Linked DNA regions of Homo sapiens: all the other regions are linked to region 3. Evidence: promoter capture Hi-C in 16 types of primary human blood cells and fetal thymus (Javierre and others, 2016). All regions are on one chromosome and are shown on one strand. The core of a region is centred on a gene start or on the middle of the fragment in contact, and the rest is flanking DNA. Distances in the headings are between cores, read along the strand shown.

Region 1 (7,570 bases), core at 1,992-4,491, 1.2 Mb after region 3:
GGAAGCCATGTTCTCTGATGAAAATCTCTGATGCCTCTGTGAGGTAAACAACACTAGGCTGAAGAGGCCAGGAGACTAACTCAAAATAGAAACAAACGCTTACGTTCTTATGATAATCCTGTTGCATTTGCTGCACTCACTCCCACAACTATACTCTCCGAGACAGCCACAATATTCTAAAAACCAATTATCTTAATGTCAATTACTTATAATGCATAACTTTATAGTATGATATCCATTTTTAATTCGATGATTACTCAGACTTTATCTGAGTTTTGACAAGTGCATATACCTTTGTAACCAAAACTCCTATCGACAGAACATCACCATTATCCCAGGAAGTTCCCTCTTGCCATTTCCAAGTCAATCTCCATCCCCAAGAGGCAACTATTGTTCTGATTTTTTCCCATCAGTCTGTCCTAAGACTTCATATAAATGGAACCAAACAATATCTACTCTTTGTTGTAAGACATCTCAGCATGTTTCGAGATTCATTCACGTTGTACGGATCATTACCTTGTTCCTTTTTATTTCTAAGAAGTGTCCTCCAAGTATATGAATATATCGCAGTTTTTAAATCTAGTTTTCGTTAATGAACACCTAGGCTGTTCCCTTTATTTATTTATTTATTTTTGGCTCTTATGAATAGCTGCTGTGAACATTCTTGTACCAAAAAAAAGACAATTATTACTGCTCCAAAGGACAGCTGTATTCCCTGTATAATTCATTATTTTGCATTCTACCGGAAGTACTGATAAAATATTTGCAGGGAAACTTCCTGGAACATGATTTAAATATGTGGTTTAGTAGATATGAGGGGTGGGTGGGTGGGCATTCTCGTCCTATAAAAAATTGCTTGCATGCATTTGAAATCATGTGGACTGAAGAGACGAAAATAACTTCTATTATTTGTTCACTCACTGCTTTTCTCATACAGCTGATATTCACAAGCTCATACTGTTATCTGTTCTTTCCTGGGAGATTGGATCAAAGTTGCATAGATTCTAGCGGACTAAATATTTGTGAAATTAATTTTGCCAATTCTCATGACTCTAAGAACTCTTTTACACCTTCCAAAGAAGTTTCATAAAGTCCTTGCTTCTGCCTGCAAACTGTCCCAGTTGCCCCATTCTGGCCTGAGCAGTGCAGCCTTAATCCCAGAGGGCCTGCGCTACCGTTACTGGGCCTTCATGCTCCCCTCCCTTGGCTCTGGTTTTGCTCTTCCATAGGGAGCACAAAGTGTACTCTCCATAATGAGGCTGAGCTGTTTACGTGCTAGAACTCCCATTTAGAACACTGGAAAAAGCCAACATTATATCTTTGGCCAACTATTTAACCTTATTTCTTTAGCTATTAAATTGAAATAATAACCATATGTTTTAAAAAGCTTTTAAACCCAGAGCTAAAGACTCTGTATTAAAAACTGGACTTACGGCCGGGCACGGTGGCTCACGCCTGTAATCCCAGCACTTTGGGGAGGCTGAGGAAGGCAGATCACTTGAGGTCAGAAGTTCAAGACCAGCCTGGCCGACATGGTGAAACCCCATCTCTACTAAAAATACAAAAAAACTAGCCGGGCCTGGTGGCGTGAGCCTGTATTCCCAGCTACTTGGGAGGCTGAGGCAGGAGAATCACTTGAACCCGGGAAGCAGAGGTTGCAATGAGCTGAGATCGTGCACCGCACTCCAGCCTAAGCATCCAGCCTAGGCAACAGGGTGAGACTCTCAAAAAAAATTTTTTTTTAACTTATTCTCCTATGTTAATCCTATGTTAGTCTTCTTCCAGAACTCTAGTGATGGGATCACTACCCATCCACAACCTCCAGTCACCTCCAAGACACCTTTGACGCCTCCACTTTCCCAGTCAACCCAACACCAAGCCTCATCGACTTCATTTCCTAAACCCCACTCGAATCCATCCAGTCCTCTCCGTATCCACTGTCACCACCGTCAGTTTAAAACATCGACCACCTCGTTTGGATTCCTGCCAGTCTCCTAACTCGGCTTGAGCCCTGGCAACCAGTTCCCACTGCACTGCGGTCACTACACCCAGGACCTTCCTCACCTTAAATAAAACTGCCCCGAGATTAAAGATCTACACCTTCGCCAGGCCAAAAGGCCCTTCCCACCTCTCCAGTTTCTTCTTTATGCCTAGGCCACACTGGCCATTCGGTTTTTGAAATACAGTACTCTCGTCCTTGGTTTAGGAAACGCCAGATCCTTAGCGCATTCTTCTGATTACCTTCCAAACTAAGCCAGTTCTCCCATCCCTCCCCCAATTTACTGAGCTTAACACTGAATGCTTCTACAGTCCAGTTGACCTTTCCTTTAAAACATTCATTACAATTACAGTTTTGTGATGATCTTAGCACTGCTGTTCTCCATCACTAGACCGTAAACTCTACGAAGCAGGAACAAAATGGACTTATTCGTTACTGTGTTGTGCCTGACAGAATGAATAGTAGTCGATTTTCAGATTCTTCTCTCCATCCTCTACTTTTCTAAGACTTAGGCCTTTCACAACACGTACTTGAAACTGAGACTTCTCAGTAAGAGAACTTCGTTTACTTGGTTCAAGTCTTAAGCCACGGAGCCCACTAAATGACAAATGAGAAAAAAAATCCCAGTCACTTCGCGACCTTCCCCCATAAGGCCTCCTCCCGCAACAGCAGGCAGCAAGAACAACGCATTTGTCCAGCATGTCCTGCGCAGGCGCCCTTCGCCTGGCTCGCTCTGCCCCACCTGTGCCAGGCAGTAAGCCGCAAGAGCACTTCCGGGAGCCCCCGACCCGGTTGTTGGTAAGTCGGCGGCGACGCCCACCTGCAGAACGGGACCGGCGGAGCGCCAGGGCTAGAGACGGGACGTAGCGACGTACTGCGTGCGTGCGTGCGCACAAACGAGGGCGCGCATGTCGGGACGGAACTAGAAAAGCTCAGTGGGGCTGGCGGCAACTCTAGGTCTAACATCCCTCGGAAGTTCGTGCAGCGGCCTCGCTGAAAATGGCTTTACAGCCCGGCAGAACCCTCCGACTCCGCAGCAGGACCTGCGGAGCCTCTCCGCCCTCGGTACCGGCGGGACGGGGTAGCCCTGACCTTCCGGGTGCCTCCTCCACAGGGGCGCCCCCTAAGGCCACGCCCTCCCGATGCCGGTCCGCGCACCGCTCCGCACGCCTCATATTTAGCATTACCTGTGCTGGGGCAAGCGATTGACATACTGTAGCGGACGCAAGTACAGCGGATCTGCGGCGAGTCCCCTTCGCTCTCCGTAGTGGGCGGGGCTTCACCCCGCGTCCTTTAAAGGAAAGGTGATGGGCGGAGCCACGTTTTTCTACTGTTGGGATTCAGTTCCGCCGACAGAAAATGCGGAGAACGCGGAGGAAGTCCCTGAGGGGAAATTGCTGCTCACCTGGCTCCCGCTGCTCCGCAGGTGCGGTGAAGGCTAATGTCGAATTTCTGCAGCAATCGGAGCAGCCCTTACTCCAGTTACATTAACACCAATCTCGGTCTCCCACTAGGGCTTTATAAATTGCTTTCATAAACGTCTTTTTAATGTAACACTGAATAAAATGTTTTATAAGCGTCTTTTATAAGGATCGTAAGTGAAAGGGCGCTGTCTCCGATTTGCAGGTGAGCAGACAGCTTCGGAGTGAGAACGGCTCCCCGCGGGTCCCCGGTGGCGCGCGGCTCCCGGAGGCAAAACAAAGCTGGGGCCGGGGCGTCGGAGCCTCCGCGTTGTAGTTGGGAGAGGTTCGAACGGGGCCCCAGCTGGCGAAAGGGAAAACGGACCCGGACCCGGACCCGTGGAGCCTGCTCGAAAGCCGGGTGCTGGGGGTCTGGGCCCCGTGTCCCCCCTCTTTTTCTTCTTCAATAAGAAATTCCTCAAGGGCAGACTGCGAGTCCACAGTCGTGAAGCCACCTAATCTGGCTTCATACCTGGAATGTTTGGATTCCTGGTACGAAGAAAAACTAACATTTATTGGCTACTTGTCCACTGGAAGGCGTTGTCTTATTTCTCATTAACTCCTTGAGTCAGCATTACGTCTTTTATTACAGATGACACAACTACTAAAGCTTTAAATAGTTCTTTGGGAGCAAAGACGAAATCTCCATTTCCTTTTTAGCTGCTGGTAGCTCGACGCTCACTGTTAAAATAGGGAGGTAATGAAACAACTCTTGTGTGAGACCGAAAGTCCAGGTGTGCATCTTGGCCATTTCCAAGTTAATCAAGAAGAATTAAGGATTCATTTTATTCTATCAAAATTATTTCTCAATGCCAAGATATTTTGTGTGACGTAGATTCGGGGACAGACTGAGTAGCACAATACCTGGGAAAAGTTAGGTGCTCAGCAATTATAATTGCCCACATTTGTGATTGCTTTTGCCTATGTGCCAGACACTGTTCTACGCACTGAACATATCTCAAGTTATTCAATCTTCAGGACAACCTTATGAGCCAATTATTATTATTACCCATTTTACAGATGAGGGAACTGAAACAAATTTGCCCAAGGTCGCACAACTAGTAGCAGAATCAAGAATAAAAAAGCCAAAAAACCCCAAACCCAGGCAAACTTTAAATGTTCCTTGCATTGCTAGACTGAAGTAGTGAGAGAAACAGTAAACAGTACGAGTCCATGAAAACATTAAAAGGATGTGAAGTATGTACAAGTAACTGAAACATTTAATGCCCAAACTAAAGACTTAAAATTTGCTAAGGTAATAGCACAGGTAGATTCACACCAAGTAATCACTGGTAACTGAAGCTACCGGCCAGCATCCATTTGCAGTCCGTCTTTGAAGGCAGCTGTGTCCAGAGCAGGTGGTTTAGGAAGCTTTCTAGACTTCCATTGTCAGATGTCTCCACGCCTAGAAGATGGTGCTTTAGTGTTCCTGGGAGGAGACATGCAGAGATGGGGTGGCAATTACAGACATGCCCACAGATGGAGAGAAGCCATTTTTTTCATCTTTTCCCTTGAACTCTTCTTTGACCTCCAGCCGAAATGGAGCTTGGCAGCTTTTGTGGGGTTTTTTGTTTTTTTGTTTTGTTTTGTTTTGTTTTGTTTTTGGAGATGGAGTCTCTCTGTGTCGCCCAGGCTGGAGTGCAGTGGCGCGATCTCGGCTCACTGCAACCTCCACCTCGCGGGTTCAAGCGATTCTCCTGCCTCAGCCTCCCGAGTAGCTGGGATTATAGGCGCGTGCCACTGGGTCGGGCTAATTTTTGTATTTTTAGTAGAGACGGGGTTTCACCATATTGGCCAGTCTGATCTCGAACTCCTGACCTCAGGTGATCCACCCCACTCGGCCTCCCAAAGTGGTAGGATTACGGGTGTGAGCCACCACGCCCGGCCACTTGGAAGCTTTTAAAGAGTCATTGAGAGCCTTGAGCTGTGCTTGGTGGGGGCAGACTTTGAAGATCCTTGAATAAAGATGAAGAGGTTTGGGGAAATGCTATTACTATGCCACAGATCTTTAATAAACTACTCCGTTATGTACATAGAAGAGGACTCTGAGACATGTGTAGAGCTTTCCCAATTGTTATCGTTTCTACATATAATTTAACCCCCTCAAAAAATGTAACTCAATAAGACTCAAATCATGGTGACTCTAAAAATGCCTATATTTTCTATTACATAGTAATTTCTACGTTAATTTCCATAGCATGCCCATGAACTTTCTCTTTCAATGAATATATTGGTGATTTGCTCTGATGAAGGAATAATGGAAATATCCCGTCCCTCTCTTTGCCTGTTAGCTTTCCAAGTCCTCCCACTTTTCCCCAACGCCGAGGGGACCTTCCAAAACAGGATTGTATGTGAGATTTACTTGCTTAGCCCAAGGTCATTGAGGTACAACATATCTGATCCACAAAAGAATCAGTCTGTGGGTGATTTCTTTAAAAAGTTATGAACACTGGGCTGCGTCTTTATAATGCCACAATGACTAACAATTCATTTAAAAATCTAATACTAATAAAAATCCTGGTGGTGGTTGTTTTTTTGTTTTGTTTGTTTGTTTTTTGAGACGGAGTCTCACTCTGCTGCCGAGGCTGGAGTGCAGTGGCACCGTGTCGGCTCTGCAACCTCCGCCTCCTGGATTCAAGCAGTTCTCCTGCCTCAGCCTCCCAAGTAGCTGGGATTATAGGCACCCACTACCACGCCTGGCTAGTTTTTATATTTTTAGTACAGACGGGATTTCACCATGTTGGCCAGGCTGGTCTCGAACTCCTGACCTCAGGTAATCCACCTGCCTCGGCCCCAAAAAGTGCTGGGATTACAGGCATGAGCCACCATGCCCAGTCAAAATCTTGGGTTTATTTTGAAGATACGAAGCATCTTCAAACTTTAAAGCCCATGTGGGTTCAGATATTCAGCATATTCTTTAACAAATAATTGTTCATAGATTAGATACTCCTCCCTCTCCAGATTATAAACTCTTACCTGGGCAGTTTTGCTAAAATTGGGGGAATTTAAGTCTATTATGTGTGAGATCCTATGTAGTGCCAACTAAATGTAGCTGAGAGCAGTTATCTTAAACAGCAGCAACTCTGTCATTACAAGGCCAGTTTAATAGCCAAAAGGGTCCATGCTCTCCTTAGTTGATGTTTACAGACTTGTCAAGAGTCATAGAAACAAGGCATGCAAGAGGCTTTGGCTGAGTGTTAGGTAACTCGTTCAAAGCTTCCTGAAGATACTGTCAGCCCAATATTGTGTGTCTATTATTGTCTGTTAGAAACTATTAAAGCCGAAAGCCTTCTTATGAAATCTCTACCATTTTCCTCAGGCAGGACTATAATTAATCCATTCCAAACATGTAAAACATCTCTATATTTAAAACAAGCCAAAACAAAACTCGAGGCCAGGAGATTTAGCTTCTCATTTCAATGTTTTATAAGACGGGAGTCTTTTCCTTTACATAACCTAAATCCATCATGTTGCTACTTAGTCTGGTTCTGCAGTAGAGCTGGAGAACATCTGGTGACCACATCTGTGTTATAACCCTTTGTGTGCTCTCAAACTATTTGCTAGATTCAAAATAAATTTCCTTACCATGAGTGAGATTTCCCATAACATTAGACTCCAGATTAATCATTTCTCTTGTCAGAATATGATGGCCTCAGTTATTAAAACGTGGTGGTTGTGAATCAGCAAAATGTCTAAAATGAATGACATATTGTAATAAAGTTTTAAAAACTTTCATATCTGCCAAATAAAAATATTTGTATATGGAAGATCCACTTCTGTGAAAAGTCTCTTGTGCAACTGCAGAAGCAGAAAATAGGTTCAGAAGTTTCATTTGGAACACAACAGAGACATGTCTTTCCATTTCAGAGGTGTTGAGTTTTGAGGTGATTCAGTTAACTTTGATCGTTTTGAAACAATGAAAATAATTTCTATTACCATCATAGGACATCATGCAGAACAACAAAGAGCTAGTACAAAGTGTACCATGCTGACTGTTGTGTAGATAAAGCAAAACAGTACCAAATGATTAGTTAGCATTTTACATTTAGAATGCAACCCAGCCGGGCACAGTGTCTCATGCCTGTAACCCCAGGACTTTGGGAGACCGAGG
Region 2 (7,266 bases), core at 1,405-3,904, 1.0 Mb after region 3:
AGATTGTGAATTTATAAATTAACCTCTTACTGTCCAATTTCCCTTCTTACACTTGTCAGTGAAAATGAAGAAAAATATCCTAACTATAAATTTTTTCACCCTATTTTTAAGTAATAGCCATGATTGTAAGTGAGGCTGTGTGGTTCCTTGAACTTTGAACTGAAGTCTGTTCTGATCTAGCCAGGTATTTTCTAAGGCCTTCTATTTTTATTCAGTTGAAACCAGTCCCAAAGGGTTAGATAAAATATATCACACTGTTTTTTGAAGTTTTCTTCTGAATGTTGTGGCAGAAACACACACTCAGGTTCTTGTCTCTTCCATATTCCCACTCCTGTAGTAGCATTTTCTCTGTACTAGGATGGAAAATTTGCTAAAATATAAAGAATTGCTAAAATATGAACAAGGTAGGTTTATCTTACTCTTTTTTTGTGCACAAGACAAAGGATTTAAAACTGGGTTGGATTTATTTGGAATGAGTGTTTATAGCATGTTTCTTCACCCCAGCTCCACTTAGAAAAAAATTGATAGCAAAAATCCTTCTCCACAGAATCTGTTCGACCAGTTGCTAGGTTATGAATAATAACAGTGAGGCAGCAGCTGCAGCTGCTGTTGCTGAGGTGGAAAATGTGCACAGAGGAGTGAATAAGCAGCCGAGGCTCTGCACTGTGATTCTTTTCAAACAGCCGTGTGTGGCGAGGAGCTGCTGACAGGCCACCACACAAAGCCACTAATGGAAGAGGCACACAAATGCTGTCGTACACACTTCTCCAGCAAGACTTGGATTTATGGAAATCATTTGGGTTGGAAAATAAATGGGGTACTCTTTACTGTCTCTGTAAAATGAGATGATGGCTTAGCTCAAGTGAAGATGATTGGATTTTTTTGGTTCCACCTAAGAAGGAAGAGAGGTTCAGATTAAATTAATTGCTCATGGGAGATGAGTAAGTAAACAGTTTTAAGATCTTTGAGGTCAGAGACCATATCATTTTGTTTTGTTTTTATTTTTTGAGACAGGGTCACCCAGGCTGGAGTGCAGTGGCACAATCACAGTTCACTGCAGCCTTGAACTCCTGGGCTCAAGGGTTCCTCTCACCTCGGTCTCCCAAAATGCTGGGATTACAGGCATGAGTCACCACACCAGGCCCATATCCTATTATTTGTAAGCTCCTAGTACTCATACTGTTGTATGTACAGTCTGCTCTTTGTGTCTGTATCTGTGAGTTCTGCATCCATGAACTCAACCAAGCTGGGATGGAAAATATTGGGACAAAAAATTGCATCTGTTCTGAACATGTACAAACTTTTTGCTTGTCATTCCCTAAGCAATACAGTATAACTATTTACATAGCATTTACATTGTATTAGGTATTATAAGTAATCTAGAGATGATTTAAAGTAGGAAGGAAGGGCCGGGCGCAGTGGCTCACGCCCATCGTCCCAGCACTTTGGGAGGCCAAGGTGGGTGGATCATTTGAGGTCAGGAGTTCGAGAGCAGCCTGGCCAACATGGTGAGACCCAGTCTCTACTAAAAATACAAAAATTAGCCGGGTATGGTGGCACACGCCTATAATCCCAGCTACCCAGGAGGCTGAGGCGGGAGAATTGCTCGAACCCGGGAGGTGGAGGTTGCAGTGAGCCGAGATCACACCACTGCAGTCCAGTCTGAGCAACAGAGTGAGACTCCATCTCAAAAAATAAAGTAGGAAGGATGTGCATAGGTTATATGAAAATACAACACTCTTTTTATATCAGGGACTTAAGCATCCCTGGATTTTGGTATTCTCAGTGTGTCCTGGAACTAAAGCCCTACAGATAACCCGAGAAACAACTGTAGAAGGAGCTCTTCTCCTCAAGAAATGATTAATGGCTTTCCATAGCCTCTGGATAAACTTTTTAGCATGCCATTCACAGTCTGGCCCCCAGCCTTTTGGGTCACTTACCACACCCTTCTCACTGTTGAGACTACTCAGAATTCCTCACACTTGTCATGTACCTCCATGATTTTGCGCATGCTGTTCCCTCAATTTGACAGGCCTTCGCCCTCCCCTGGTTTCCACCGATCACACCTGACTCACCTGCAGCCCAGCTCATGCTGAAGCTTTCCCTGATACTTGGATCAGACCTAACTCTCCCTGTGGCAGCTCTGTTGGAGTTTGCATCCTGACCTGCTCTGGCCTTCCATTACCAACACAGTGTTCTACAACCTGCTTTCTTTATTTTGTATTTTTTTTTTGAATTTTGAATTTTTTGAGGCAGGGTCTTGTTCTGGCCCACGCTGGAGTGCAGTGGTATGATCACAGCTCACTGCATCCTTGATTTGGGCTCAAGCAATTTTCCCACCACATCATCTTGAGTACCTGGGACAACAGGCATGCACCACCATGCCTGGCGAATTTTTCTTTCCCCTCTGCTCCCCTCCCCTCCCCTCCCTTCCCCTTTCCTTCCTCCCTCCCTCCCTCCCTTCCTTCCTCCCCTCCCCTCCCTCCCTCCTTCTTTTCTTTTATTTCCTTCTTTTTTCTTTTTTTGTAGAGACAGGGTTGAACACTGGCTTCAAGCAATCCTCCTGCCTTGGCCTCCCAAAGTGCTGGATTACAGGTGGGAGCCACAGTGCCCGGCTCTGCACCCTGCCCTCCATACCCGTGGAATGTGCCAAGATTAAAACTCAGAGGGCTTGAGGCCTGCACCACTATATGGCTCTGTGACTGGATAAGTTACTCAATTTGTCTAAACCACAATTTAGAGGATATTCTTTACCTGTTTCACAGGATTAATTAAAAATTAAGATAATATTTGAGAATTTTCTTGGTAAACTCAACAGTAATTTATAAATGATAGTGAATTTGATAAATTTCTTCACTACAGGGATGTCTGTGAAGGCAGGCAGGAGTGTGTTATACTTTGCTGTCTTAGTAAATGTTCGCTGCTCTTTATGTTCTGCGCAAGCACTTATCACAGAGCCTCACAGAGTCAATTTTCAGTAATTGTGCCTGCTGAGTTGAAGTAAAATAGGGAGCTGGTAGAGGGCAGAGCCATGATTCCTGTTTAGGGAGAGCACCTCAAAGGCAGGGGCTCTGAGGCTCCGGTAAACTCAATAGTCAAGGACTTAGGATATACAGGAGAGGGAGTTGATGTTGGGTTATGGCTGGGGTGGGGGAGTTGTTTGTGAACAAGAGGAGGACCCTTGGCAAAATTTTGCCTGATGACTAGAATTCAAGCTTTTATTTGACTGGGAAAGAGTTAATAACTTCCCAAGTGTGCTATTATTTGCATATTACCAAACTCTGGCCTTTATGCTCATTCTAAACACCCACAGATTTGTATATCTGTATCCATGCCTACGCATTTCTATTATCTTTTTAAAACCACTTCAGCACGCCTGTTATATTGGTTGCACCATAGTTTTACATAACTCTGGACACAAATTTAAAAGGAAATGGCAGAACACAAGCAGCAACAATTTAGGCAAGGCTATTTATAATTCTACAGTTCAGTCACTTACTGTCTTCACTAGAAGGTCATGGATTATTTTGTATATTTATAAATGCAAAGAGCTTTTCCAAGGAGAATGAAATAACATGTTGAGCTCTTCTGAGCAAAGGTGCAATGTAAATGCAAAGTGGAACATAATTATCACTGGGCAGAGAACAGTCTTAGGAATCTTCCTTATTGGCTGACCTTAAGCTACAATGGTCTTATTCCAGACTGGGAATGTAAAACAGAGAAGGAGGTGAGGAGAGACAGAGATACTCAGCATTCCACCAAGAAAGGACTCTTTTCCCTTGAAAGTGCTGGATTTTCACTCCAGGAAGGTGAATAGGGTTTATGGCAGATCTCCTTGGCAGTCATTCTCTCTGTGAGTTCTTGATTTTGGATGGGGGTGGTGGTATGTCCAGCTAGAGGGAGGAATCATGATTGTCTAAACTAGTCATGGCCATCCCAGTCTTCTTTGCTAGATACTTGAGTAATCTCTTTCCCAGTTTCTCTGTTCTGGCCAGTGAGATGTAAGAGAGAGTCTGCTGAGTTCTTGTGAGAACTGCTTTATTTCATAAAGAGAACAACTAAGAGAGTACTTCCTTCCCTTCCTGTTTGGGTAAGGACTTGATGCTGCAGGAGCCACCCTGCATCCATAAAGGAGAAGTCAAAAGGAATCAGAGACAACAGCCCAGACCCCCATCACGGAGCTGCACGTGACCCTGGAACTTAACAGCTTCCAGTTGTTCCCTAGACAGTCATTGTCTTTATGGTGCCTTTTCCCCCATCAGGGAGGAAGGTGCCTTGCTTCAAGTCTTTTCAATTAAACTGCAGTTTAACAGAGAAAATTGCCTTATGAACAGTCAAAAGTCAGTACAACTTAAATATGGCAGTTTATCTCAGGACATCTCCCAGCACACGTCTTCCTGAGAGCAAGCTGCTCTCAAAACCAAGGCAATGGGAAAATGGTCAGAAACATGACTTCTGTATTTTCCAGTTCATACACTGAAGACAGCATTCATTCATTCATTTGGAAAGTCAGCCAGTGAACAAACATTTATTAAGGACCTTGCCAGTCCCAGGTGCCACTATGTGCTGGGTACTAGAGTCACAAGCTAGAGTCCCTGTCCTCCTGGAGACAGACATGAAACAAATATTCCACCAGAAAGTAATGATAGTTGAGATCAGTGCCCTGAGAGTGAGTAACTGCAAGATAGGGGTGGGGACAGTGGCAGTGATCAGAGACGGCTTCTCCAAGGGAGGAACATGTAAACTGAAGTCACCATCTAGTCTAGATTAGTTTACTTCAGGATTATTCAGAATTCTGCAGATAAGAAATGAGGCCGGGCGCGGTGGCTCACGCCTGTAATCCCAGCACTTTGGGAGGCCGAGGCGGGCGGATCACGAGGTCAGGAGATCGAGACCATCCCGGCTAAAACGGTGAAACCCCGTCTCTACTAAAAATACAAAAAATTAGCCGGGCGTAGTGGCGGGCGCCTGTAGTCCCAGCTACTTGGGAGGCTGAGGCAGGAGAATGGCGTGAACCCGGGAGGCGGAGCTTGCAGTGAGCCGAGATTGCGCCACTGCACTCCAGCCTGGGCGACAGAGCGAGACTCCGTCTCAAAAAAAAAAAAAAAAAAAGAAATGAGAGCAGTAGGGATACAGAGGGAGACACCAAGAAATATAGGAGGAGAAATGATGGAACTTGGCGATTAATCAATGTGGAAGTGAGAGAGTGGGTAGAGTCAAGGATGTCTCCCAGGCTTGGGCCACTGGGTGGATGGAGACACATTCATTAGCATGGTCAATTACAAAAATGGACCCCATTCTCCATCACTCTCTGCTTCCTTGCCCTTTCACACGTGACTTTTCTGCTGTTTCCACAAAGGGGCGGAGTGTATTTCCCTACTCCTTGAATATGGGCTGGCCCCATGACTTGCTTTGGCCAACAGAATGCAGCAGAAGGGATGGGTTCCTTCTCAAGGCCTAGGTCTCAAGAGGCCTTATCCATTTCCACCCACTCTCTTGGAACTCTGCTCAGCTACCATGAAGGCAGGCCCTGGCCAACGTGCTGAATGAGAAGAGACATGTAACTCAGTCACTACCCTCCCTCATCACAGCCAACAGCTGCCAGACATGAGTAAGGCTATCCAAGGGCAGCCAGCCCCCACTTCCAGAACCTGGAAGCTCCCTGCAGATGCATCAAAGGGCTCAACAACTGTAAGTGATTGTTGTTCTAAGCCATCTAGTTTGGTGTGGCTTGTCATGCAGCAAAAACTGGTACAACCAGGGTAGAGAAAGGTATGAATTAGGGTGGGGCTGTCTAATAGGCGATTAGGCAAGTGAGGCTGGAACACAGGAGGTCAGAGGCATGAAGGTCTTCTAACTGTTCAAGGTTAAAGTCCTGAGGCTTCTGCTGTGCTATTTCTGGTGGGCTCCAGAAATCCAAGAACCAGTCTATAGCTCTGTGTCCTGTTCCTCACACTGCCCCCCACCCCACCCTAGACCCCACCATGCACCTAGAAGTAAATATTTGGATACTGAAGCAAATGCATGACTCAAGCACATAGGATAGTATTAATGATGGACACTTAGTGCAGGGCCAGGGCCCCCAGCCAGTGGAGTGCTCATGAGTGTTCAGGAATGAGCCAGTGCAACCCCTGCCTGCAGAGGAGGGGCTGGGCATGGATACTGAGATGCTAACCATCACTGCCCCTAAGGGGACTTCATCTATCCCTAGCAAGGTCACAGTGACTGCAGTTGCCTCCACTGATACTAATTCAGAGCTCTTGCCCCCCGCCCCCCGCCCTTTTCCCATATTAATGTTACCCCTTAGCATCTTTTCTTTTCTTTCTTTTTTTTTTTTTTTTGAGACGGAGTTTCGCTCTTGTGGTCCAGGCTGGAGTGCAGTGGTGCCATCTCGGCTCACTGCAACCTCCGCCTCCCTAGTTCAAGCGATTCTGCTGCCTCAGCCTCCCGAGTAGTTGGGATTACAGGCGCCCACCACCACGCCCCGCTAATTTTTGTATTTTTAGTAGAGACAGCGTTTCGCCATGTTGGCCAGGCTGGTCTTGAACTCCTGACCGCAGATGATCTTGCCCACCTGGGCCTCCCAAAGTGCTGGGATTACAGGCGTAAGCCACCGCGCCCAGCCCCTTAGCACCTTTTAAAAATAAAAAGGGCAGCGTTTTACAGCAATCTGTCCCATTGTTGCAGAAACATCCAACTGATTGCACTTTTTCTTCTTCTCTCGTCAACTCGTAACTCCTATCTCAAGTTCACCCACAGGTCTAGTGACTCCGGCTGGCTGCTGCGGGGCGAGGAGACTCGCAGAATGCCTGACTAGAGGCCACTCGCGCGCTCTGGACGGTGGCCGTATCTCCAGGGTCTGAGCCCCGGAGCCGCAGTCCTGCCGCAGAGCGCCTGGAGCCGCGAGCAGCTAGCAGCCCGGCGAAGCGCACAGCCTCGGCGATAGTCAGCTCCGCGGCCTCTGCTCCCGCCCCTCCCGGCCGCTCCGGGAAGGGGCGGAGACGAGGAGGAGCTGGGACGGCCGCCGCGCTCCCGGGCGCACCAAGCCCTTTAAAAGCCGCGGGCCTTGACAGTTCTGCAGGCAGCCGCCGCGGTCCCGGACCTCTAGTCCCGCACTCCCAGCTGGCGAGCCGGCTCCGGGTGCGGCGAGGCCCAGCCCTCTCGGATTGCGCGCCGGACCCCGGGACGCGCTCCATGCGGCCGCTCAGCATGTCCGGGCACTTTCTGCTCGCACCCATCCCCGAGTCCTCCTCGGACTACCTACTG
Region 3 (7,968 bases), core at 1,744-4,243:
TTCTTAAACTCACAAAAACAATATACTATATTTTCATAAAGAGAAGCAAGGAAAAAGAATACCAATTCTCCTTATCTTGAAATCCTTCCATCTAAATGATGAAAAAAGGGTGTTTCCTCTTTTACCCATCTCTTACCAGGGGTGCCTAAAAGATTATGGTCTCTCATAAGCCGATAATCTTCATCATTGAGTTCATTAATAAACTGATAATAGGCCTCTTCTCTGTGGAGACGCTCTTGCTGCCATCTTCTCTCATTTTCATGATGATTATGGTCTTGAGGTAAGGTTTCTTCACTGCCACCATCTGATCTCGATCTAGACTGATTCATCCTGAGATTCCTGGCTTTCTGTTCAAACAATATAAACAACATTCAAGGTGTTAAGTCATGGACCACATTTGGCTTTGTATTTTTAACTTGCAGTTTTTCTTAATTTTTAAATGTTGTCCCCTACCCAAATACTGTATTTGCCAAATCTTGCAGTGAGAAGCTTACATATAAAATGAAAAACAGCTTCTAGGAAATACAACACAATTGGCACTTACTTCTTTGCCTAAAGCCATTAAGTCAGACTGGATTTGGGTTTACCACACAATGCTCATGCCTGAATACCATAGTGATTATCTCATTTTTGACCATGTTGACGATCTGGAAAAGTTGATCCAGAAGTCCTCATTTATGTTTCAGGATCTGGGTACTTCACATTAATTACAAATTTTAGGCTTGAATTATGCACATTCTTCACTTAATGAGCAAAGGGATACTGGGATGATATAATTTACATTTGTTTTCAGCAAGGTATTCTTTCCAAAATAAGGCTCATGAATGTAATATTATCCCCCACTGCACTTTGATGAGGTGAAAATCATTTAGCCTAATTAATATCTACTGAACAAACTGGAAGGTGGTCTCTTATTAAAGCTTACCAGGAAGACTTTGAAACCCAACAGGAAACAAGACATCATGTATGGCTCAAGGATTGTGAAAGTGCATCAGAGCACTTTGTATCACCCCATATCAAGCCTCATCCTTAAGCCTGGAATGGTTAGTCCCAGGAGTTTCAGAATGCCAGTGAAACTTCCTGACTTTGCCTAAGAAACCACTATTTTTGGATTATATTTAAGTGTCACTCCTGAGAAGCTCACTTTTAAATTACATGGAAATCAAGAGAGAAAGATGTTTGTTTCACAAATATTTTAGAATTTCTTAAATACATCTATTCAGTAAGTCACACTAAAGCAATGGTTCTCAAACTCACTTAAGGGTATTTTTAAAAATCTAGATGCCCAAATCTCATCCCCAATCCTTGATTAGAGTTTTCCAGGGTAGGACCAGGTCTGCTGTTAAGAGCTAATTTGGGTGTTCTGCAGATGAAATAAACTATTCCTCGACAATTTCTGGCATGTCACTAAAGGGTATGAGTAATACAGCACCTGACTCAGTAGAGGCTGGAGGCTCAAATGGCTAGGCTACCAGTGAAGCAACTGTGCAACTCTGCCTCTCGAAATACACTAGGTATTTAATAAGCAAGCTGCTTTAAATATAAGGTGAAATTAGCCTACAAGTCTAAAATACTGTTGGAGTAAGCAACTATTCAATTTCACCTGTAACACTAAATTACAAATTCAAGGATTTTTTTCACTGTGGTTATTTTATTATGTCATTTTGAACAAATGACCTAGTAACATTATCCACTCAAATATGAATTAACACTACTAAAAACTCAAGATCTCTATCTTCAGATTAAGACCATAATTAGCAAAGAGCATATTTCGTAGGTACAGCAATAATAGGATTTTTGTAATAAATAATTTTACAAGTTGAAGCCTATCATAAAATCAAGTTACCCTAATATTATTTAAAACTTGAGCTTCTCCTTAAAGGTAATTTTCTTATACAGTTAATCACAATGAAAACAAAGCGAATACCTTATTTTCCTTTCAACACGCTTTTAACATATGCCATGGTATCCATCCTTCAATTGTTTGTGCCTTTTTTGAGAGCTGCCCATCTGAAGCAATAAAAGAGAGTTGAATAATTCAATAAACTGTTTCTTTAAAGGCCAGGAACGGGTGGTAGTCTCCCCACTCTGCTGCAAAGCCAAAGCAAATTCTCCAGTGGATTTTGTTAGACACATCTAGAAAATTAGATCCCCATACAATTAGGTCACGAAAACCTCCCGCAAGGCCCCTACCTTCCGCAACAAACTTAGGCCTTTCGTCCTACACTGTCACTGTTCCTGGGTTTACGCCTCCTCTCTCAAAGGCCTTCCTTCCTATCCCGTTCCCATTCGGATGTTACCAGGGTTAGGCGTCTCCGGCTTACTTCTAAACCTTGACTTTCTTGCCACCCCCGCCCTCCGTCCCGCTACTGGTTTCTTTCCCGGCCGTTGCGACGGAAGCTCGCGCCGGGGGACGATCCCCACTACGATAAATAAAGTGGGCTCAAGAGGCCCAACCAACCTCTTCCCAACCGAGCCTCAAGTAACGCTTCCCTTAGAGACCTAGATTCTCACAAGGAAGCAGGTGATAGACGGTGCATCCCAACCAATCACCAGCCAGCGGAGCGCAATAAGAAGGCAGTTAACCAATCGGAGAAGAGATGGGTGGCTCGAAGGATGGCCTGCTTTCCCCGGCGTCTCCAGGAAGTAGTGGTGGGACCCAGATCTTTCCCTCGAGCCCACCTCTCCAGGTCTTGGGCCTTCGCCCTCCTGTCCGGAGAACGTGTGCTGTGGGCGGCCGTTCTCTCGGGTGCTGGAGGCTGTGGTTGGGAGGCGGGATAGGCTTGCCGCCGCGCCTCCGGAGCCCGCTGTGCCCTCGAATTGGCCACTGAGGAGAGAAGCCGGAAGCCCGTGCTGCAGCGTGGGGTCGTCCAGCTGGAGGGGATACTCGGGAGGAAGAACGGCAGGCCCCAGCCCTTCTTTCCCGACAGCCACGCCGCCCACTTGGCGGCGGGGAGTCGCTCCGCAGCCGGCCCGGAGCTCGCCCGTGCAACTGAAAACTGCGTCCGTCGGGAGCTAGGGTGCCTGGCGTCCCGCGTTCCGCCCTCTTGCGCCGCCCTTACAGTGCCTCCTCCTCGAGGCCAAATGCCCGGCCGCTCAGCGCTCGTGGCAGCCGCGTAGTTGCAGAGACACGGTCTGCTTTCCAGGCTTGGGAAGTCCCAGCACTTAACTCTGCGCGTCGGTGTCGCTCGTTTGCCAGCCAGACTATAAAGTGCACCCAACGGTGTATGCGTCTCTTTACTTCCGGGTGTAACGTACTACCCAGCCAGGCCCTTTCCCTTGCTGTGCTTTGGAACCTGGAAATTACAAACCCTAATAAATTCTGAAGTCTGTCTGTCTGTCTATCTCTATTTGAGACAAGGTCTCATCCTGTCGCCCAGGCTAGAGCGATCGTAGCTCACTGCAGCCTCCAGCGATCCTCCCTCCTCATCCCAGTAGCTGGAACTACAGGCGCTTGCCATTAATTTCACATTTTTTCTTTTGTAGAGACGGGGGTCTCGCTATGTTGCCCAGGCTGGTTTCGTACTCGGCCTCAAGCAATCCTCTCACCTCAGCAAAATGGGATTACAGGCATGAGGCACCGCACCCCACTATATTTTGTGTTTTTTCACCTTCCCGCTAGGAAAGCAGTTTGAAACTCCCAACATTCCTCCCTCTGATTTTATTTCTGAGATGTGAGGCTTACTAAACTTACCTCACCGTTAGTTAAGATGCTGAGTAGGTCTCTGTCTAACCTGGTATAGTCCCCTTTCCTGACATCCCTACCATCTGATGACTTCATCACTGGAGAGTGCTCACAATGCCGTTACTTGTTATTCTTCCGTTTGTTCTTTCATTTCTGCATTAACTTTTGAGGAACTACCATATCCCCATTATTATGCTGGGCACCTGGATAACAAGCTACATGCAGTCCTTAGCATCAATGAGCTACCAGTGTAGTAAGGATCTATGGACAAGTGTTTAAAATAAGCATATGGATATGGATACTAAAATGGAAATATATAAAACAGCCTAGAAAGCCCTTCCAGATCTTTCTTCTGCTTACATTTACAGGCTGTTGTCTTGGCACTCCGAAACTGCTTGAAGTTCCGCCACAAGATATGGGAACTCCTAAGCAACCCCCAACTCCACTTTTACCTAATTTCCTCTGTCTCCCAAAACTCAGCTCAGTTCTCATCTTTAAGGAATTTTTCCTGATACCTCTGAAATAACACCCTTACCTCACCCTCCAGCCCGATATTTACACATAAAACTAAGCAAATGTCCCTTTTGGGGGCTCCCATACTCCCTCTATATATAAAACCCTATTTTAGCATGTATTCATGTATTTAACAAATAGTGAGTGTGACTATGTATTAGGTGCTGGTGATGACAGCCGTGAATCAGACAGTCATGTCCTCATAGAATGAAGTCCTTGCCCTCTTTTCCCATGGAAAAAGAGCCATTGAGCAAATACTTAAGATGATTTTCTGTTTTTAGGTCTTTACTACCTAGAGTCTGAACTGCTTAAGTGTGATCAAATGGTCTAATTCATTTTTGTAATCCCAGAACTTAGCACAGCACTTGGCAGAACATTCTCCTCAGCCTACTGCATAGATGAGCAGAGAAAAATGCAATCTTTTGGCAAACGGGATTAATGCACACAGTACAACGACTTCAGATATTGTGAACACACATCATAGAAAATAACAAGTAGAAATCATTTTTAATATCTGTGAATTTTGGAGAGTGCAATCAAATGCAATAATCCAAGTGCAAATACTTTTTACATGTTGAGTGGAAAAGACATATGTGTCTCTTCCTATTTTTCCTATTTCCTATTATATACCCTAAGAATAAAAAAAAAACTATTATAAAAATGTCTAAATAAAAATCCAATCAAGTGATTTACCAGGTAGGAAGTTGCAGGTTTTTGTGAGTAGAGAATCAGGTAATGTATGTAACTTGAATCCAACACCTTGCTTCAGTTTTTGTAGTCCAAGACAAAATGACTACAAAGAGGGGCTTAGATACAACAGCTGGAACAGACAGATGAATCATTCTGGATATCTACTCCAGGTCTCAGAACCTGCCAAGGTCTCTGGTCTAATTAATTTCTGTTTATTGGATTGGTACCTGGCCTTTGTAGTGTGTATGCCTCATGTAACTCCTGGACTTTTTACAATTAGGAATACAAAGATCTAAAATAATTAAAACCATAACATTAAAAGGATTCTCTGTATATCTGGTAAATTATGTACTTGTCATGTTTAAAAGATTTTGGCTTCATAAAACGACAGCCTTAATTACAATTTAAAACAAAATGGAGCACTCGATTTCAAGTTTTAAGTTGAAGTTGAAATCTTGCTAAGTTTATGGATGGCATCAGAGCAGCAAAGAGAAATATAGGCTCCCCATATTGTTTTATTATTAGTTTAAAAATTATTATATAAGATTTAAAGACGAAATTACATGTAACATTTGAAGTACTTGTGAATGAGATAAAATATTAAATGTATAAATACAGTTTAAAATGTTGGTTTGAAGATATTAAATATGTATATGAATGAGATTGAAAGTTAGTGAAGGGCTAATTCCAAATGACTGTTAAGATTTACTATACTTGACCAGGCACAGCTGCTCACACCTGTAATCCCAGCACTTTGGGAGGCCAAGGCGGGCAGATCATGAGGTCAAGAGATTGAGACCATCCTGGCCAACATGGTGAAACCCCATCTCTACTAAAATTACAAAAATTAGCTGGGTGTGGTGGCGCACACCTGTAGTCCCAGCTACTTGGGAGGCTGAGGCAGGAGAATCGCTTGAACTTGGGAGGCGGAGGTTGCAGTGAGCTGAGATTGTGCCACTGCACTCCAGCCTGGTAACAGAGCGAGACTCCATCTCAAAAAAAACAAAAACAGAAAGATTTACTATGCTTACCACTAGAATAATAAGAGCTGTAAACCAAACGTAAAAACCTAAGTTGTAACTAGGACATTGAATTTGGAACTAATAAGTTGAATATTAACTGTTTAAGACAAAGATTTTTTAAATAATATGTTCTTTATTTCCTTATAGCTCTTTTAACAGCCTTATTGAGATATAATTCACATACCATAAAATTTGCCCATTTAAGGTATACAATCCAGTGGTTTTTAGTATAATCAGACTTGCGCAGCATTCACCACAATCTAATTGTAAAACAGGTTCATCTCCCCAGAGGAAACCCTATACCTATTAACAATTACTCTCATTCCTACTCCACCCTATTCCCAGCCCCTGGCAATTACTAATGTACTTTCTGTCTCTGGATTTGCCTATTCTGAGCATTTCAAACAAATGGTATTCTACGTCATGTGGTCTTTTGTGTCTGGTTTCTTTCACTTAGCATAATGTTTTCAAGGGTCATCATGTTGTAGCATGTCTCAGTATTTCATTCCTCAAGAGAAACTTCGGAATAGTCCTTTTCTGCATATAAAAACAACCCTCAAGGATACTCCTGATAACCAGGGTCTTAATTAGGCCAGAGATGGTCTTGGATCAGGTTATCTAGAAACGAAGCCTGAGACAAGGATTGTTATTGAAGTGTTTTATTAGGACGGTGCACTCTGGAGAAGGGGATAGAGGAAGCAGGATTGGCCAGGAGGACAAGGAAACAAGAATGAGCCTCCACTGATCCCGTGAAATTCACCACCAAGTGGCCTTGTTGGCCAGCTCTTTGTACGTACATGCCTGTCCCTCATTGGGTGAGATCTTCAGGGGCAGGATTGCAGCAGAACCTCATGCGTGAGGTGGCTCCTGTTTTAGCCAAGGGAAATTCTCTAGAGAAGAAGGCAGCTGAAATTGTTATCCAATACTCCCAGCAGCTGGAGTACAGATGCATGAGCTTATAGAGTGGATTTGGGCAGGAAACAAAAAACGTTCACTATGGTCCACGCTTTGTATTGCTGAGATCTTTTGCTTCTCATGTGAAATTTCTCCATCTGAGCAGTTTCTAATCCCAATTTCTGGGAAATTTTTAAAAGACAAGGGTATTGGGACAAACTACAGCCCCTGTTGCTGCAGCTGGTTCCAAGGCCATAACTGATACTCATTATCTCCCTCCTGCACTACCCTTTCTAGATTCCCCTCCACCTCAGCTAGCACTTCTGCTGGTGCAGGTGGCTTGACTGATGGATTGAACCAGGCACTCATCCCTGAGGGGTTCAGACCCTGATTATCATGCTTTTACCAGGCTACGGTGGCTGTACTTATTCATTTACAGTTACAACTAGGCACAGGAATACCAAGAAATGCCCCCATTGGATCTCCTGAGTACCCAGTGCATTCCTCTCTGGTCTAATTATGTAGCATCAGCCTCCACCTTGTTCTGATGGTTTGCTTGCAGGTCTTCCAACATTAAGAGCCCACAGTGATCAGAGAGCAGCCATAGCTTTCAGTTTAGTGGGACTCTTACTGTGTCCTATGATGAAAGCATCCCACCTCTGAGTATAGGACCTGATTATCCCTTGATCACTGGATCCATGTATTCTATCTACTGTGGACACAGCACCATATACCAGCCATTGGTTTAAGGTGTATATTTGCATTATCCTGAAGGATAATGCTCCAGCCTCACAAGGGGTTATTTCCAAGGTGGAATTTCAGCTATGCCTTCCATAGGCCATTGCTCCACTCTATCAATTTGATAGCTTCCAAGTGGTATGGTATGTGGTATGACCAGTGGATCCTCTGGTCAGGTGCCCAACACTGTATCTTCTTGCTGGAAAGTGAGACCCTTGGTCTGAGGCAGTGTTATGTGAGATCCTGTGTCAGACTGTCTGACATTCTGTAAGTCCTTCAGTAGTGGTACTGGCTGAAGCACTGCAGGCAGGAAAAGCAAACCTGTACTGGGAATATATGTCAAACCCAGTCATGATGAAATGGGACTCTTTCCAGGCTGGAAGGATCCATTGTAATCAACTTGCCACCCGGTAGCTGTTTGGCATT
Region 4 (6,925 bases), core at 3,031-5,530, 1.0 Mb after region 3:
CAACATATGATTTCTGACTGGATCATGTAAAAAAAAAATGCCATAAAGGACATTATTGGGACAACTGACATTTGAAATGTGGATTGTAAATGTGATACCAGCCAGGAGCCTGCAATCCCAACACTTTAGGAGGCTGTGGCAGACAGATCACTTGAGCTCAGAAGTTCAAGACCAGCCTGGGCCACATGGTGAAACCCCCTCGCTATAAGAAATTAAAAAATTAGCTGGGTGTGGTGGCACCTGTGGTCCTAGTTACTTGGGAGGCTGAGGTGGGAGGATGGCTTGAGCCTAGGAGGTGGAGACTGTAGTGAGCTAGGATCATGCCACTGCACTCCAGCCTGGGCCATAAAGCAAGACTCTGTCCAAAAAAAAAAAAAAAAAAAAAAATTGATATAAGCATTGTATCAGTTTTGTTTCCTGAATTTGATAAATGTACTGTGGTTATATGAGAGAATGTCCTCATTCTTAGGAGACACAAATCAGTACAGTATATGGCCTAAAGAGGAAAAGATATGTGTGACCCACTCTCAAACAATTTAGAAAAAAACATATACAGTGTGTTTACATAGATGGAGAAAACAGTGGTTCTCAAAGTGGGATCCCTGGAGGAGCAGCAGTGTCACCTGGGAACTTGTTAGCAATACGAATTCTTGGGCTCAACTCAAACCTACTAAATCACCTGTCTGGGGTGGGGGCCAGGAGTCTGTGTTTTAACCTTAGCCTTCCTGGTCGTTCAGATACATGCTAAACTTTGAAAACCACTGATACAGAGAGAATGAGAAAACAAATGTGGTGAAATGTTACAATCAGTGAATGCAGAGAAAGGGCATACAGGGGTCTTCTGTAATATTCTTGAAACTTTTCTGTAAGTTTGAAATTGTTTCAAGATAAATATTAAAAACAAAATTACCCTGGTACAATAAGTGTAGACATGTGGAAAGGAGACCTGGGAGGTAGGAAAGCAAATCACAGAGTTAACACAGGAACCATGCATGAGGTGATGTAATTTACAACTAAGACTGCTGCCACTCCAGTGCTGAGTGAGGACAGGCTATCTGCAGAGTCTTCAAATAACAAATCTCCTCCTTGCAGAACATTTGGGCACCAATCATACTAATCTAAATAGGACAGTCCGGCAATCTCTGTAGAGAGGTTTCCTTCAGAAAAGCTTTCAGGGAGCATGAGGAAAACAGTGGTCACAGCACTCCAGAATTCTATCGAGGGCTGATCTGTGAGAGTGACATTCTCATTCATTGCTGTAATTTTCACCAGTTTTTGGAGTCCTCCAGTAATGTGTAAGTTATTCCAATTGGGGAGATCTTCAATCAGAATACTAGTGCTAAGAACTCCATATTTGATAAACTTGTGAAAACACACATCTTCACCAAAACCTTTGAGAGGTTTAGTGTCCAAGACTGATTTTACCCCTAAGGTATGTGACATGAGGTTGAAACCACCTTTACAAAGATTATGAAAGTGACAGAAGTCAGGCCAGGGGTGATGGCTCATGCTTGTAGTCCCAGCACTTTGGGAGGCCGAGGCGGGTGGATCATGAGGTCAGGATGTCAAGACTATCCTGGCCAACATGGTGAAACCCTGTCTCTACTAAAAATACATAAAGATTAGAAGGACGTGACGGTGCACGCCTGTAGTTCCAGCTACTCGGGAAGCTGAGGCAGGAGAACTGCTTGAACCCAGGAGGCAGAGGCTGCAGTGAGCCAAGATTGTGCCACTGCACTCCAGCCTAGGCAACAAAGTGAGACTCCATCTCAAAAAAAAAAAAAAAAAAAAAAAGAAAGTGAGAGAAGTCTAGCATAGCTGACTCCATTTTGCTTCCAGCCTCACAGGCTCGATTCAGCATTCTTTGGCACCTTGGTAAGAACCTTCACCATCTGCCTTTTGGCTTTATTTCCCATCACTCTTGTCTTGCATGGGCAACACCACACTGCTTGTACTCACCGTCACATGCTACATTGTCTTCTACGATGGAATGCTCTTTTGTCTTCATCTAACGCCCATTCATGTTTTAATGTCTTGGGCATCACTTCTCTTAGGAAGCCTCTTTCGGGAATCAAGAAGATGAGAAAGATCAAGCTACTGAAGAACAAAGGGAACAGCATGCATAACGATCCCAAGACTAGAAAAAACTTGAAGTATTTACGGAATTGAAGAAGGCAGAGAGAGACACAAGAAAGTGAGGGAGACAGGAATCTGAAAAGATAAGCACGATCTAGTTTATACAGGACTTTGTAAGACAAGGTAAGGAATTTAGATTTTATTCTAAGAGCAACAGAAAGCCTGTGGAGGGCTGTAAGCAAGGGTGTGATATAATCAGGTTTATATTTTTAAAAGATCACCCTGGCCACTATATAGGAAATGGATAGAACAGGGGCAAGAGAGGAAAAAAAAGTGACCATAAAGATGCCATTGCTGTAGTTCAGAATAAGACGTATTAGTGGCGTGGCCACAGAGATGGGAAGAGGTAGGTCAGCTGGAGATACATTAATATATTAATATTTTACAATCAGAACTGGAACAAAACTTTCCAATGGATTCCATACGGAAGGGATAAAGGGAAACTTAAAGGCAAAACCAAGGTTTCTTGATTATGCTATGTACTGAATGGAAAATATTGGAGCAGAAACAGGCTTCAGGGTAAAAATCAAGTTTTTTTGTTGTTGTTTTCTTGTTTGAGACAAAGTTTCACTTTGTCGCTCCAGCTGGAGTGCAGTGGCATGAACACAGCTCACTGTAGCCTCAACCTCTGGGCCCAAGTGATTCTCCTGCTTCAGCCCCGCAAGCAGCTGGGACTATGGGCGCATACCATCACACCCTGCTAATTTTTGTATTTTTGTAGAGACAGGGTTTCACCATCTTGCCCAGACTGGTCTCGAACTCCTGTGCTCAAGCACTCTGCCTGCCCCGGCCTCCCAAACTGCTGGGATTACAGGTGTGAGCCACTGCATCTGGCAGAAAATAAAAAGTTTTATGAGCTAGGCATAGGGGTTCACGCCTGCAATCCCAGCTCTTTGGGATGCCAATGTGGGAGGATTGCCTGAGCTCAGGAGTTCAAGGCCAGCCTGGGCAACAAAAGGAGACTCCATATCTACAAAAGAATTTTTACAAATTAGCCAGGTGTGGTGGTGCATGCCTGTGATGCCAGCTACATCAGTGGCTGAGGCAGGAGGATGGCTTGAGCCCAGGAGGTTGAGGCTGCAGTGAGCCATGATCATGTTCCTGCACTCCAGCCTGGGCAAGAGAGCAAGACCCTGTCTCCAAAAGAAAAAAAAAAAAAGTATATCTAAAACTTAAAAACATCCCATAAAAACTTACAACACATCCCATAAGGTTATACCAAGGGTATAAACGTTGGTCTATAGTCCTCAGTGAGACTTCTAAATAAAACTAATTATGTAAAAGCTTGATTTTTTTTTTAAGTTGACAGAAGGTAAGCAAATTAACTGGGGAACTGTAGTGGGGATGTTAAACAGTAGAGTACCCACATACAATTAATTTTGGCTACTCTAGGCACGCTGCCTATGGGATAGCCCTGCTCCACAAGGAGCAGTTAAAAAAAAAGAAAAGAAAAATAAAAGATTTGGACATGTTGAGATGCTAAAGAGTATCCAAGAATAGATATCAAGTTGAATAGCAATCTTGAGGAAAGGCTGGAATCACATAAATCAATCTGGTAGTAAGCAACACAGAGATGAAATTTAAAATTATAGGAGTAAATGGAATTAACCAGGAAGGCAGTACAGAAAGAGAAGAGCAGGGGCCTAGCTCCAAGACCCAGGGAAATGTAGTCTTTATAGGACAGGGAGAGGAGGGAAAATCAGCAAATCAGACTGTGGAGTGGTGAGGAAGGGTAGTGTTTCATGGAGGAAGAGCTGGCCAACAGAGTCCAGTGCTTTGCGGAGATCAAGAAAGGAAAGAACAGGGAATGTCTTTTGGCTTTGGCAACATATAAGCAGTTGATGCCCTGACAAGAGCAGCTTTAATGACATGACTAGAACAGAAGTCAAATGAAACTGAAGCTGAATGAAAGATGAGGAAGAGATAATAGTGTTTATGTATTAAACTGTATGACACTGCTGAACTTTCACAATTTTTGATGTACAAAACCAAAAATTTCATGACTCCTTTTTTTTTACATTTGACAGAAGAAAAATGAACATATGGGGCAGTAGTTATAAAGGAATATGAGATCAAGCAGAATCAGAAAGAAGAGAGTTGCGGGTTTTAGTGGGGAACACCAGAGCCTGTTTGTACATGGATAAAAATGATGGAGTTGGCTGGGAGCATGTTTGTACACTGATAAAAATGAGGCAGTTGGCTGGGCGTGGTGGCTCACACCTGTAATCCCAGCACTTTGAGAGGCTGAGACAGGTGGATCACTTGAGGTCAGGAGTCCAAGACCAGCCTGGCCAACATGGCGAAACCCTGTTTCTACCAAAAATAATAAAATTAGCCGGGTGTGGTGGCACACGCCTATAATCCCAGCTACTTGGGAGGCTGAGGCATGAGAATTGCTTGAACCCAGGAGGTGGAGGTTGCAGTGAGCCGAGATCATGCCACTGCACTCCAGCCTGGGGACTAAGAGAGTCTCAAAAAAAGAGGCAGTCATCAGCTGAAAGAAAGGTGGGAGAAAGGAAGGTTTGATAATCAAAGAAATGACATGAAATAATCTTTAAATAGAATAATGTGAGACAAAATAGAAAATGTTAAGCCAGGTTTGCTTATTTCTGCTTGAACCCCTGACTGTGATGAAATGCAGCTCCTCAGGAAGAATCTTAAAACAGGATAGAGCACACGGCCCCCCGTGTCACTCGCCTGAGTTACAACGTTCCTGAAACAGTAAATGAACTTGACCTTGCCTTTTCCTACATGAAGATGTCTGACAGGGTTAGTGATTATGCTTCTACAATCTATAACCAAATTACTTTAGTAATCTATAAACTGATGTACTCTTACACCCAAACTTTAATGAGATTTCACACATACAGAACCCCCACAACCTACATAGAAGCAATGGGCTGAGGGACCACTTTGGAGCCCTGTGAAAGAACTGCCCTCAGGGTATAAACCTTGGTCTACAGTCCTCAGTGAGACTTCTGAATAAAACTAACTTTAATTATGTAAAAGCTTAATTTTTTTTTTGACAGCAGGTAAGCAAATTAACTGGGGAACTGTAGTGGGGATGCTAAACAGTACAGTACCCATTTGTTAAGGGTTGGTCGTGAATTTATGGGAGAGGCTAAAAACACAAATGCCAACAGGAGCCAGGCAGGTAAATGACTGAAGCAGGCTGAGTGATGAAGGAACTCAAGAATGAATGCCCCATCTAAAGGGGAAGCCAGTGGAGTGGCCATCAAGACTATCAGCTCTATGCTGCCAGATCTCCTGATTTCTCAAGGGAAGCCAGAAATCTTTTTTTTTTGATATGTTAATTTTTAAAACACTCTATGGGCTCAAAAAAATATTTCCAAGTGCAAAAAAATATAGTGCATGGATGACTAGTTTCTGATTTGTCATCACACCAGATTACAAGATTTTCTTCAACGGTGCTCAGCTGTGGAGGTACTGTCACGGTTGCATTTATCCAAGGTTCGGTATGTGCTAAGAAAGTGATGGGGGCCAGGCGCGGTGGCTCACGCCTATAATCCCAGCACTTTGGGAGGTGGAGGCGGGTGGATCACCTGAGGTCAGGAGTTGGAGACCAGCCTGGCCAACATGGTGAAACCTCGTCGCTACTAAAAACAAAAAAATCAGCCAGGTGTGGTGGCGGGCGCCTGTAATCCCAGCTACTCCTCGTGAGCCTGAGGCAAGAGAATCGCTTGAACCCGGGAGGCAGAGGTTGTGGTGAGTCGATGTCGCGCCACTGCACTCCAGCCTGGGCAACAAGAACAAAATTCCCTCTCAAAGAAAGAAAGAAAGTAATGGGAAAGGAAAAGTGACCTGAGGAAGTGAGTGCTAACAGAGTGACTGTAATAATGAACTACAGAAAATTAAGTTAAAGACAATCTAGAAGCCAAGGGCTAATGGTTACAGTGAAAGTCTGGAGGAGTCAACGTATTGAAGGAATCAATACCAAATCCTATTCCTCCTCAAGTTCTTCAGCAAATGATGTTAAGTGCTGATGACGATGGTCACAGAATGTACACATTTAAAAAATGGTGCTGACGCAGTTCTTAGAAATTACAACTTTCAGGTGCATCAGGAGAGTGAGTCGAAGACATGCAAATTTCAAAAGCGACTGGACGATATTATTTATATTCAGTCTGATAAGGGATTTTGTTAACTTAGCTGACTTTTTAAAAATGCATCCTAAAAATACATACAATCATGAGAAAAACATGAGACAAATTCCATGATTAGGACATCCTACAAAATACATGACCAGTACTCCTCAAAACTCTCAAGGTCACCAAAAGTAAGGAAAGTTTGAGAAACTGCCACAGCCACAAGAGGCATATAAGGAGACATCATAACTAAATGTAATGTGGTATTCTGGATGGAATCCTGGAACAGAAAAAGGGTATTAGGTAAAACCGAAGGAAATCTGAATAAAATGTGAACCTTAGTTAATAACAGTGTAAAATATTGGTTCATTAATTGCAACAAATGTACCATATTAGCATGAGATGTTAATAATAGGGGAAACTGGATGCTGGGTATATGGCATTATCTCAATTTAAATAAACTACATTAAGAAAATAATATCTATTTTTAAAGGTGTAGTGAATAAAACAATGGCCACCCATATATTTAACACCCGGTTTAATAATGGTCAATACAGTTAAAGCCTCCCTTTATTGTCCCCTCCTTACCAGATATGACTGCTTTTCTCAACTTGATTTTCATTCTCTTGTATTTCTTGACTTCTTTAACTACATATGTATGCATAACTAAGCAATATATAGCA

What was found. Contacts are between HindIII fragments. The CHiCAGO score rates a contact against its expected background, and 5 or more counts as called.
Region 1: a contact is called between the fragment with the promoter of MTIF3 here and the fragment with the promoter of RNF6 in region 3, in 6 of 17 cell types (total CD4 T cells, non-activated CD4 T cells, activated CD4 T cells and 3 more). The highest score is 9.4, in total CD4 T cells.
Region 2: a fragment that was not itself captured here is called in contact with the fragment with the promoter of RNF6 in region 3 in 1 of 17 cell types (naive CD8 T cells); the score reaches 5.6 in naive CD8 T cells.
Region 4: a fragment that was not itself captured here is called in contact with the fragment with the promoter of RNF6 in region 3 in 1 of 17 cell types (neutrophils); the score reaches 5.2 in neutrophils.

The regions. Positions count from the first base shown.
Region 1 is chr13:27,447,323-27,454,892 of GRCh38, forward strand. It overlaps MTIF3 (mitochondrial translational initiation factor 3), which reads right to left and starts at 3,242. Exons shown (of 5, transcript NM_152912.5): 1 at 3,187-3,242. RefSeq lists enhancers at 2,479-3,393, 3,237-3,596, 3,617-3,676. The HindIII fragment of the contact is 2,682 bases long and covers 1,386-4,067 here.
Region 2 is chr13:27,263,751-27,271,016 of GRCh38, forward strand. RASL11A (RAS like family 11 member A) reads left to right here and starts at 7,080. Exons shown (of 4, transcript NM_206827.2): 1 at 7,080-7,266. The coding sequence starts at 7,195. RefSeq lists an enhancer at 6,542-7,042 and silencers at 6,991-7,210, 7,251-7,266. The HindIII fragment of the contact is 1,117 bases long and covers 2,097-3,213 here.
Region 3 is chr13:26,219,321-26,227,288 of GRCh38, forward strand. It overlaps RNF6 (ring finger protein 6), which reads right to left and starts at 2,994. Exons shown (of 5, transcript NM_005977.4): 1 at 2,683-2,994; 2 at 1,928-2,010; 3 at 137-347. The coding sequence starts at 329. RefSeq lists enhancers at 1,766-2,647, 2,648-3,529, 2,675-3,054 and a silencer at 2,175-2,224. The HindIII fragment of the contact is 7,611 bases long and covers 919-7,968 here.
Region 4 is chr13:27,243,801-27,250,725 of GRCh38, forward strand. No RefSeq gene overlaps it. Among named protein-coding and RNA genes, the nearest start is that of RPL21, 4.3 kb to the right of the region's middle. The HindIII fragment of the contact is 1,725 bases long and covers 3,419-5,143 here.